Regions from separate parts of the Homo sapiens genome. Here region 2 is linked to region 1. Evidence: promoter capture Hi-C in human tissues and cell types (Jung and others, 2019). All regions are on one chromosome and are shown on one strand. Each heading gives the region's core, a stretch centred on a gene start or on the middle of the fragment in contact. The rest is flanking DNA. Distances are from core to core; before and after follow the strand shown. Region 1 holds the start of ZNF716 (zinc finger protein 716). Region 2 overlaps ZNF479 (zinc finger protein 479).

What was found. The method cuts DNA at HindIII sites, captures the fragments that hold promoters and counts their contacts. A contact is called where the count stands out against the background at its distance.
Region 2: a contact is called between a fragment that was not itself captured here and the fragment with the promoter of ZNF716 in region 1, in 11 of the 25 tissues and cell types used here (H1 embryonic stem cells, IMR-90 fibroblasts, aorta and 8 more).

Annotation. Positions count from the first base shown.
Region 1 is chr7:57,448,365-57,452,766 of GRCh38, reverse strand. It overlaps ZNF716 (zinc finger protein 716), which reads right to left and starts at 2,590. Exons shown (of 4, transcript NM_001159279.1): 1 at 2,440-2,590. The coding sequence starts at 2,478. The HindIII fragment of the contact is 19,624 bases long and covers 1-4,402 here.
Region 2 is chr7:57,126,740-57,131,141 of GRCh38, reverse strand. The region is part of intron 1 of ZNF479 (zinc finger protein 479); the gene reads left to right. Among named protein-coding and RNA genes, the nearest start is that of ZNF479, 3.5 kb to the left of the region's middle. The HindIII fragment of the contact is 5,941 bases long and covers 1-4,402 here.

The DNA of each region.
Region 1 (4,402 bases), core at 1,341-3,840:
GTTTCCCCCAAAAAAACTCAACCCACACATTATGATGTCTGTGCTTGGAGAAGACAAAAGAAGAGGCACAGAGATTTTTTACAATACAGTGTCAGAGGCTTAATCTCTGCTTTCTTTTTTTTTCTTTCTGAGACAGAGTCTCAATCTGTTGTCCAGGTTGGAGTGCAGTGGCACCATCTTGGCTCACTGCAACCTCCGTCTCCTGGGTGCAAGCAATTCTCCTGCCTCAGCCTCCTGAGTAGCTGGGATTACAGGCACTCACCACCACGCCCGGTTATTTTTTTTTGCATTTTTAGTAGAGATGGGGTTTCATCATGTTGGCCAGGTTGGTTTCCAACTCCTGACCTCAAGTGATTTGCTCGCCTCAGTCTCCCAAAGTGCTAGGATTACAGGCATGAGCCACCGCGTCCGGCCCCTGCTTTCTTCTTATGTGAAATATTTACAAATGGGAACTTTTTTTCCCATTTGACATTGAATGACACTTTTAAAGTGCCATCCAATGCTTTTAAAAAAAATAATTAATGTAAGTACTGTGTCTGAAACATACAAGAAAGGACAAATAGATAATAATATGAGTTAGAAAGAAAAGTTGACATTTGGGAATGTCACAAAAACTGAAAATTTAATATTTTATTGCAAGCCAGAGTTAGTCTGTGAGAACAGAATGGTTGACTTAAGACCCTGCTTAAGACACAGCTGAGGAAGGGCATGGTGGCTCATTCCTGTAATCCCAGCACTTTGGGAGGCCAAGATGGCCAGATCACCTGAGGTCAGGAATTTGAGACCAGCCTGGCCAAAATGGTGAAACCCCATCTCTATTAAAAATACAAAAATTAGCCATGTATGGTGGTGTAGGCCTGTAATCCCAGCTACCTGGGAGGCTGAGGCAGGAGAATCACTTGAACCCAGGAGGTGGAGGTTGTAGTGAGGCAAGATCACGCCACTGCATTCCAGCCTGGGCCACAGAGTGAGACTCCATCTCAAAAAAAAAAAAAAGAAAGAAAGAGTTGAAAAACGCAGGCTGGGTGTGATAGCCTATTCCTGTAATCCCAGCACTTTGAGAGACAAAGGTGGGCAGATCACTTGAGGCCAGGAGTTTGAGACCAGCCTGGCCAGCATGGCAACACTCTATCTCTACTAAAAATACAAAAATTAGCCAGGCATGGTGGCGGGTGCATGTAATCCCAGCTACTCAGGAGGCTGAGGCAGGCGAATCACTTGAACCCAGGAGGCGGAAGTTGCAGTGAGCTGAGATCACACCACTGAACTCCAGCTTGGGCAACATTGCGAGGCTCTATCTCAAAAAAAAAAAAAAAAAAAAAAAATCCAAGGGAAAACCAATTTCCTGTGGGGTGTAAAAATATTTAAACAGCAGCCAATTAGACTGAGGTGGATTGATTCTTCTCGGCTCTCACTTAAAAAAAAAAATCTATCTCAAATGTATCTCTTACAGCTGGGCACGGGGGGATCACGACTGTAATCCCAGCACTTTCGGAGGCCAAGGCAGGCGGATCACTTCAGGTCAGGATTTCAAGAGCACCCTGGCCAACATGGTGAAACCACGTCTCTACTAAAAAACAAAAGCCGGGCGTGGTGGTGGCAGTCTGTAATCCCAGCTACTCCGCAGCCTGAGGCGGGAGAATCGCCTGAACCCGGGAGGGCGGTTGCATTGAGCTGAGATCGTGCCATTGCACTCCAGCCTGGGCAACAGAGCGAGACTCCCTCTCAAAAAAAAAAAAATGCATTTCTTGGAAATTACTTTCTTGAAGAAAAATATTCAGGCCTAGTCAACCACAGACTGCCAATTAATCTCTGATGACATAACCAAGCCATTTTCACCTGGATCTTACAAACAAGGAAACTACCTAACTGTACCAAACCAATTATTTAATCGGGTTTGCTTCATCATGAAACTTATAACAAACTTTCCTTCAAGTCTCTCCCATGGATCACAACCCACAAACCATAGCTGGGCGCTCTAAGATTCTTGAATCACACTTTGATTCAATTCTCTGATATTTTTACAGCGACTCCCCATACATCTCTAAAAGAAAAAATGAGGAACTAGGGACCCCAGGGAACACAGCTCTTTCCACTCACGAATCCTGCACCCTAAGTCTGGATTCTTCCCTGATGACTTTCCCATCCCTGCACAGTCTGGGTGAGATGAGGCGCTGGGAGTGTAGAGCTGCCCAGAGAGGGCTCCAGTCCAGGGCAAAGCCACTGCAGAGGAAAAAGACAGAACTCCCAGGGTCCCAGCCGCTGGCCCAGGCAGCATCTTAACGCTCGAGGGGACTAAGAGCCGAGCTGGGACAAGGAGGATTTGGGTCCTCAGACTCCGGAGCTGACTGCGAGGAAGTTTGGGTCCTGCTACAGCCACTTTCAGTCAGTTCCAACCAGCCCCCACCCCTCTCTCACGGTGACAGACCCAGCACTCACCATTTCTCGGCTTCCAGGGGGTCCCGGTCTTTTAGCCATAAATCTGCGAATACTTGCAGGACACAAGGCCACAGAGGCTTGGCCTCCAGGAGCAGAGGACGCAGAGCAGTGAAGAGAAGGACTGGAGCTCTGGGCGCAGAGAAGCAAAAAGAACCCGTAACCTTACGGAAGCGTCCTGTTCTCTCCCGCTGCATTCCTGATTGGACAGTTTCTATTTCACGGCCCCTGATTGGATAAGGTTTGAGGCCCCACCCTTCATGCCCTGAGTGACGGAAAATTTGATCAGACACTGGGCTGAATAAAGCAAAAGTAACAGGTTAGGCTGCAGCCTTTACAGCCAAGGCTTCTTCCCTGATCTGAGCCAGGCCAACCCCAGAGGATACTTGCATTTAACCTTGTGTATAATGTCATATGCATTTATAAATGATATATAATATAGTTATTCATAAATTGAAAAAATATAAAGAATTATTTTACAATTTCAGATTTTATGACCTTCCTTGCTGCGGATCCTTTGCAGTGATATGGTTTGGCTCTGTAGCTCCACCCAAATCTCATCTCAAATTTTAATTCCTGGCCGGGCGCGGTGGCTCACGACTGTAATCCCAGCACTTAGGGAGGCCGAGCGGGGAAGGCGAAGGCGGGAGAGGGGAGGGCGGGGGGCGGGGAGGGATCACTTGAAGTCAGGAGTTCGAGACCAGCCTGGCCAACATGGTGAAACCCCGTCTCTACTAAAAATACAAAAATTAGCCAGGGTGGTGGCGGGCGCCTATAGGGTCAGCTACTCGGGAAGCTAAGGCAGAAAAATCACTTGAACCCAGGAGGCGGAGGTTGCAGTGAGCCGAGATCGCGCCATTGCACTCCAGCCTGGGCGACAGCAGGGAGATTCTGTCTCAAAAAAAAAAAAAAAAAAAAATTGTAATTCCCACATGTCAGGGCAGGCACCGGGTGGGAGGTGACTGGATCTTAGAGAGGGATTATCCTCATGCTATTCTTGTGATAGTAAGGGAGCTCTCAAGATATCCGATGGATTAAAACTGTGGCACATCCCCCTACCCTCCCCATCCCCAGTTCTCTCTCTTTTTCTACCCAGTAAGATGTGCCTTGCTTTCCCTTCACCTTCCGTCATGGTCATGATTGTAATTTTCCTGAGGATTCCTCAGCCATGTAGAACTATGACTTAATTAAACCACTTTTTAAAAACATTACGTGGTCTGAGGTATTTGTTTATAGCAGTGTGAAAATGACCTAATCCATGAAGGCAGCCTGAGATTTCACGAAGGAGGCAGTCCTCTGCAGTAAAATGTGAACCACAAGTAAATTTTGAATTTTCTATTAGGCAAATATTAAAAAGTAAAAAGAAAAAGGTGGGGCCGGGCACAGTGGCTCACACATGTAATTCCAGCATTTTGAGAGGCTGAGGCAGCAGAAAACCTGAGGTCAGGAGTTCGAGACCAGCCTGTCTAACATGGCGAAATCCTGTCTCTACTAAAAGTACAAAAATTAGCCAGGCATGGTGACAGGCACTTGTAATCTCAGCTACTCTGGAGGCTGATGCAGGAGAATCGCTTGAACCTGGGAGGCAGAGGTTGCAGTGGGCCAAGATTGCACCACTGCACTCCAGCCTGGTGACAGAGTGACTCTGTCTCCAAATAAAAAAGAAAGAAACAGATGGAATAATGGTAGAATTGATTGTAACAATTTAATCAGCCCAATATATCAAAAATATTACTATTTTAATATGTGATTAGTATGTAATGGTTAATAAAGCGTATACATTTTTGAAGCTAAATCTTTCAATGTAACCTTGTATTTTACCTTTCCAGCACATTGCAGTTCAGACCAACCACATTCCAGCACCCTGTGGCCATGTCAGAGGTGTTTGAACCAGAGCAAATGCATCTGGAATAGGTGTTAGGTAAAATGGGGCTGAGACCTACAGGACTGCTTTTCCATGAAGTCA
Region 2 (4,402 bases), core at 797-3,296, 320 kb after region 1:
TTCTGATTTTCTTCATCCTCTGATCCTCTACCCTGAACAGACCTCTACCCTCAGTGTCTGTTGTTCTCTTATTTGTGTCCACGTGTTCTCATTATTTTGCTCCCACTTATAAGTGACAACATACAGTTTTTTATTTTCTGTTCCAGCACTAGTTTTCTAAAAATAATGATCTCCAGTTCAATCGACATTGCTGCAAAGGACATGATGTTGTTCTTTCTTATAGTGCATCATATTTCGTGGTGTTTACATACGACGTTTTCTTTATCCAGTCTACCATTGAAGACATACAGGATTATTTCTTGTTTTTGCTATTGTGAATCGTGCTGTAATAAACATATGCGTGCATGTGTCTTCATGGTAGAAAAACTTACATTCACTGGGTATATTCCCAATTGCGGGATTGGGAATGGTAATTCTGTTTTCAGGTTTTTGTCAAAATGCCAAACTGCTTTTCTCAATGGTTAAATAAATTTATACTCTCACCAGCAGCATATAAGCATTCAATTTCTCCACAACCTCACAAGCATCTGTTTTTGTTTTTGTTTTTACTTTTTATTCTAATTGTTTTTATTTGAATTATTTCTTTTTTTCCCATTAGTCTAGTGTTTTATCTATCTTATTATGTTTACATAGAATTAACTTCTGGTTCCTTTGAATTTTTTTTTTTTTAAGACAGAGTTTCACTCTTACACCCAGGCTGGAGTGCAGTGGTGCGGTCTCAGCTCACTGCAACCTCTGCCTTCCAGTTTCAAGCAATTCTCCTGCCTCAGCCTTTGGAGTAGCTGGGATTACAGGCATGTGCCACCACAGCCAGCTAATTTTTGTGTTTTTAGTAGAGATTGGCTTTCACTATGTTGGCTAGGCTGGTCTCAAACCCCTGAACTCGTGATCTTCCCGCCCTGGCCTCCCAAAGTGCTGGGATTACAGGAGCAAGCCACAGCACATGCGTGGCCCATTGAACTTTTTATAGTTATTTATGTCTCAAACTTCTTCATTTCAGCTCTGATTTTGGTTATTTCTTGACTTTTGTGAGCTCTGAAGTTGGTTTGCTCTTACTTTTGAAATTCTTTTAATTGTAACATTAGATTTTTAAATTGAGATCTTTCTAACTTTTTGATGTGGATGTTTAGTGATATACATTTTGTCCTTAACACTGCCTTAGCTCTAACCCTGAGATTCTGGTATGTTGTATTTCGGTTGTAATTAGTTTCAAAAATTTTATTTCTGCCTTAATTTCATTATTTCCAAAATAGCCATTTGGAAGCTGATTATTCCATTTTTATGTAATTGCATCCTTTCACATGTTTTTTTGTATTGAATTATTCTATACATTTTCTTTTTAAAATTAATGAGAAAGATAAGAAGAAATAAAAATGCTGTGCTCTTAATCCAAATGCTAAAAATTATTCAGCACTTAGTACCAACTCCCAGGGTGCTATGAAAATTAAATCACAAAATGTGTTATTCCCAGCGCAGTGTTCTGTGACATGCTCCTGAGCACACAATACCTGCTTAATAAACATTTTATTAGTACATGTGTACAGGTTTCCCAGGTGCAGATTCACTCAGACATTACTGTCTTCTGTTGTCCCTGTAAACTTAAAAAAGCCAACAAAAATATAGCATTTCAGGGTGGAAATTGGTTGTTTTTATTTGTAGCAGTAGTATTAGTATTGTGACAAATGTGGTGTGTGTAAGGGACTCTGCTGTGCCTGCTTTCTCTTGCTAATGCTAATAATGTGTCTGCGAAAGCACAATCAGCATTTACAGGGGACTTGTAAAAGCCCATTCCTGGACCCTTTTGGATCCTGCAGAATCACGTTGCATAGAGCGGGGCCAAGATTACCAAGTGATTTATAAACTTGAGGGGTTCAAGATACTTTCAGGAGAGTTTAGTTCAACCTTTGCATCATAGGAAGGCTGCACTGCCTGCCCTGTTTCAGTTTGGTAGGAAGAGGTCAGTGCGGTTCATGCTCCCATTACTGTAAAGAAAATTGTTGGTTTCTGATAGGGGAGGGCAGGGACAAAGAAACTTATATTTTAATAGTTATGGAGAAGCTTGTTGTTCTCTCATTGCTCTTAAATCTTTTCAGTTATAAACAACAAAAATGGGTGAATGTTTTCTGCAAGTCTCGGTCTTTCTGCCGTGGGTGTGTGTGGTGGTAGCAGGTGAATAGGTTGTGCTTTAAAGGCATATTCTCAAGATGCAGGTTTGATATGTCCAGAGCATCTCATCTGAAAATACATTTCAGAGAAAGAGGAGGAAAAGAAACAAATCACTTTTTCTCAGGTGAGCATGTCTCAGATCAAGCGCAGTGTCCACTGCTGCCTTTTGGAATGCCTTGTGTTCAGATCTTGCAAATTTTTACTTCTCTACTTGTGCTGTTGATCCCTAATGAGTTTGTTTCAACTATTTTTTGTGATTTTTATGATAGTCAAGGGGTTCTGAAAAAAATATTTGTTTTCTATATGCCATAGCATTCTATACATTTCTCTTCATCTTGGATTCTTGTATATCATGCAGAATTCTTAGAACAAATTTATGACCTACGATATTTAAAATGTTCCCATTGTAGCTGTTGAACATTAGAAGGTGTGGATACTCAAGATTTCTATTGGGGAAATACCGTTGTCTTTGGAGATTAGTGAAAAGTGAAACATGTTCTATTGAGGTTTCATCTGTGTGCTCTATTAGTTCCATGCAGGACAGTGTTTAGAAAATGCTCATTTAAACAGGGTGGCATTTATTACACAGAAAGTTCTGAAAAAACTGTTAGGAGATACTTGCTTTCCAGGGTGCTAAGGAAAGACTACTTAAAATTACTGATAAAAATTACAGAACAGGGAAGTTATCTGCACCTTCAACTTTGCATAAAACTGATGTTTCTTTTTGATTAAATTTAGGCCAGACACAATGGCTTTGGCTTGTAATCCCAGCACATTGGGAGGCCGAGGCAGGTGGATCACGTGAGGTCAGGAGTTCAAGGCCAGCCTGACCAACATGGTGGAACAACATCTCTACTAAAAAAAAATACAAAAATTAGCCAGGCATGGTGCATGCACCTGTAATCCCAGCTACTTGGGAGGTTGAGGCAGGAGAATTGCTTGAACTCAGGAAGTTGAGGTTGCAGTGAGATTAGATGGTACCACTGCACTCCAGCCTGGGTGACACAGCGAGACTCTGTCTCAAAAAAAAAAAAAAAATATATATATATATAATAAAATTAAATGTAGATTATAATTTACTTTTCTGAGAGGAGAGAAATGCCACAGCAGTGATGTTGTGTTGTGTGTGCATCAGCACATAATAAAAATGTGTCCTAATAAAGTTGATAACAATTTTATTCACTTGGTTCAAGATCTCTATGACATTTTTTTCCACTCTAGAGTTAATTCTTATTCTCTTAATTGTTAAGGACACTTAGGAGATTTACTAGCTGAAGTGCATAAACCATCACATTTAATCTGGAAGCTGTCCTTTCCTTTTAGATGACTTTTGCTTATATTTGTCTTTTAAAAATGAAGGCTCTTATCTTTATTTACAGGTGAGAGAAACTGGGAAAAACCCAGACTCTGCCATTTACTGGATATTTGACAAAATATTCTTACTAGGCTAGAAACATTGGTGAGCTTGCTAAAAATTCAGAAATTCAGACTTCCTCGGAAATCTCCTGAAACAAAATCTCACAAGATCTTTAGTTTATTGCACATACTAAGACTTGAGAGGTATCTTCCAACTCATCATGACTGTTCTATCTGAGAAATATACACAACTTATTCTATATGATGTAAATATAGCACTCAAAAATAGACATGTCCGGCCAGGCGCAGTGGCTCATGCCTGCCATCCCAGCACTTTGGGAGGCTGAGGTGGGTGGATCACCTGAGGTGAGGAGTGCAAGACCTGCCAGGTCCACATGGAGAAACCCCATCTCTACTAAAAATACAAAAATTAGCCAGTCATGGTGGCTCATGCCTGTAGTCCCAGCTACCCAGGAGGCTGAGGCAGGAGAATCGATTGAACCCTGGAGGTGGAGGTTGCACTGAGCCAAGATCATACCACTGCACTCCAGCCTGGGCAACAGAGTGAGACTCGGTCTCAAAAAAAAAAAAAAGAAAAAAAAAAGAAAAACAGAAAAGAAAAAGACATGTCCATGTTGATGCCCTTAATTTTATAATGTATCATCCAGAAAAGTATCAAATCTACAGCAGTATTGTGGATCTTATGCTATCCTCTTTTCTCAGAGTTAGAGAATACTTCAGTGTTAAAAATTATCTTATTGAATAATTTTAGTCACTCTTGTAAGTGAGAACCACTTCTTTTTACTCTCTTTTTTAACTTGAGTCAAATAAAAATCTCTGCCTATGGCCGTGTGGTAAGTGCTTGTGTGTTCATGAGTGG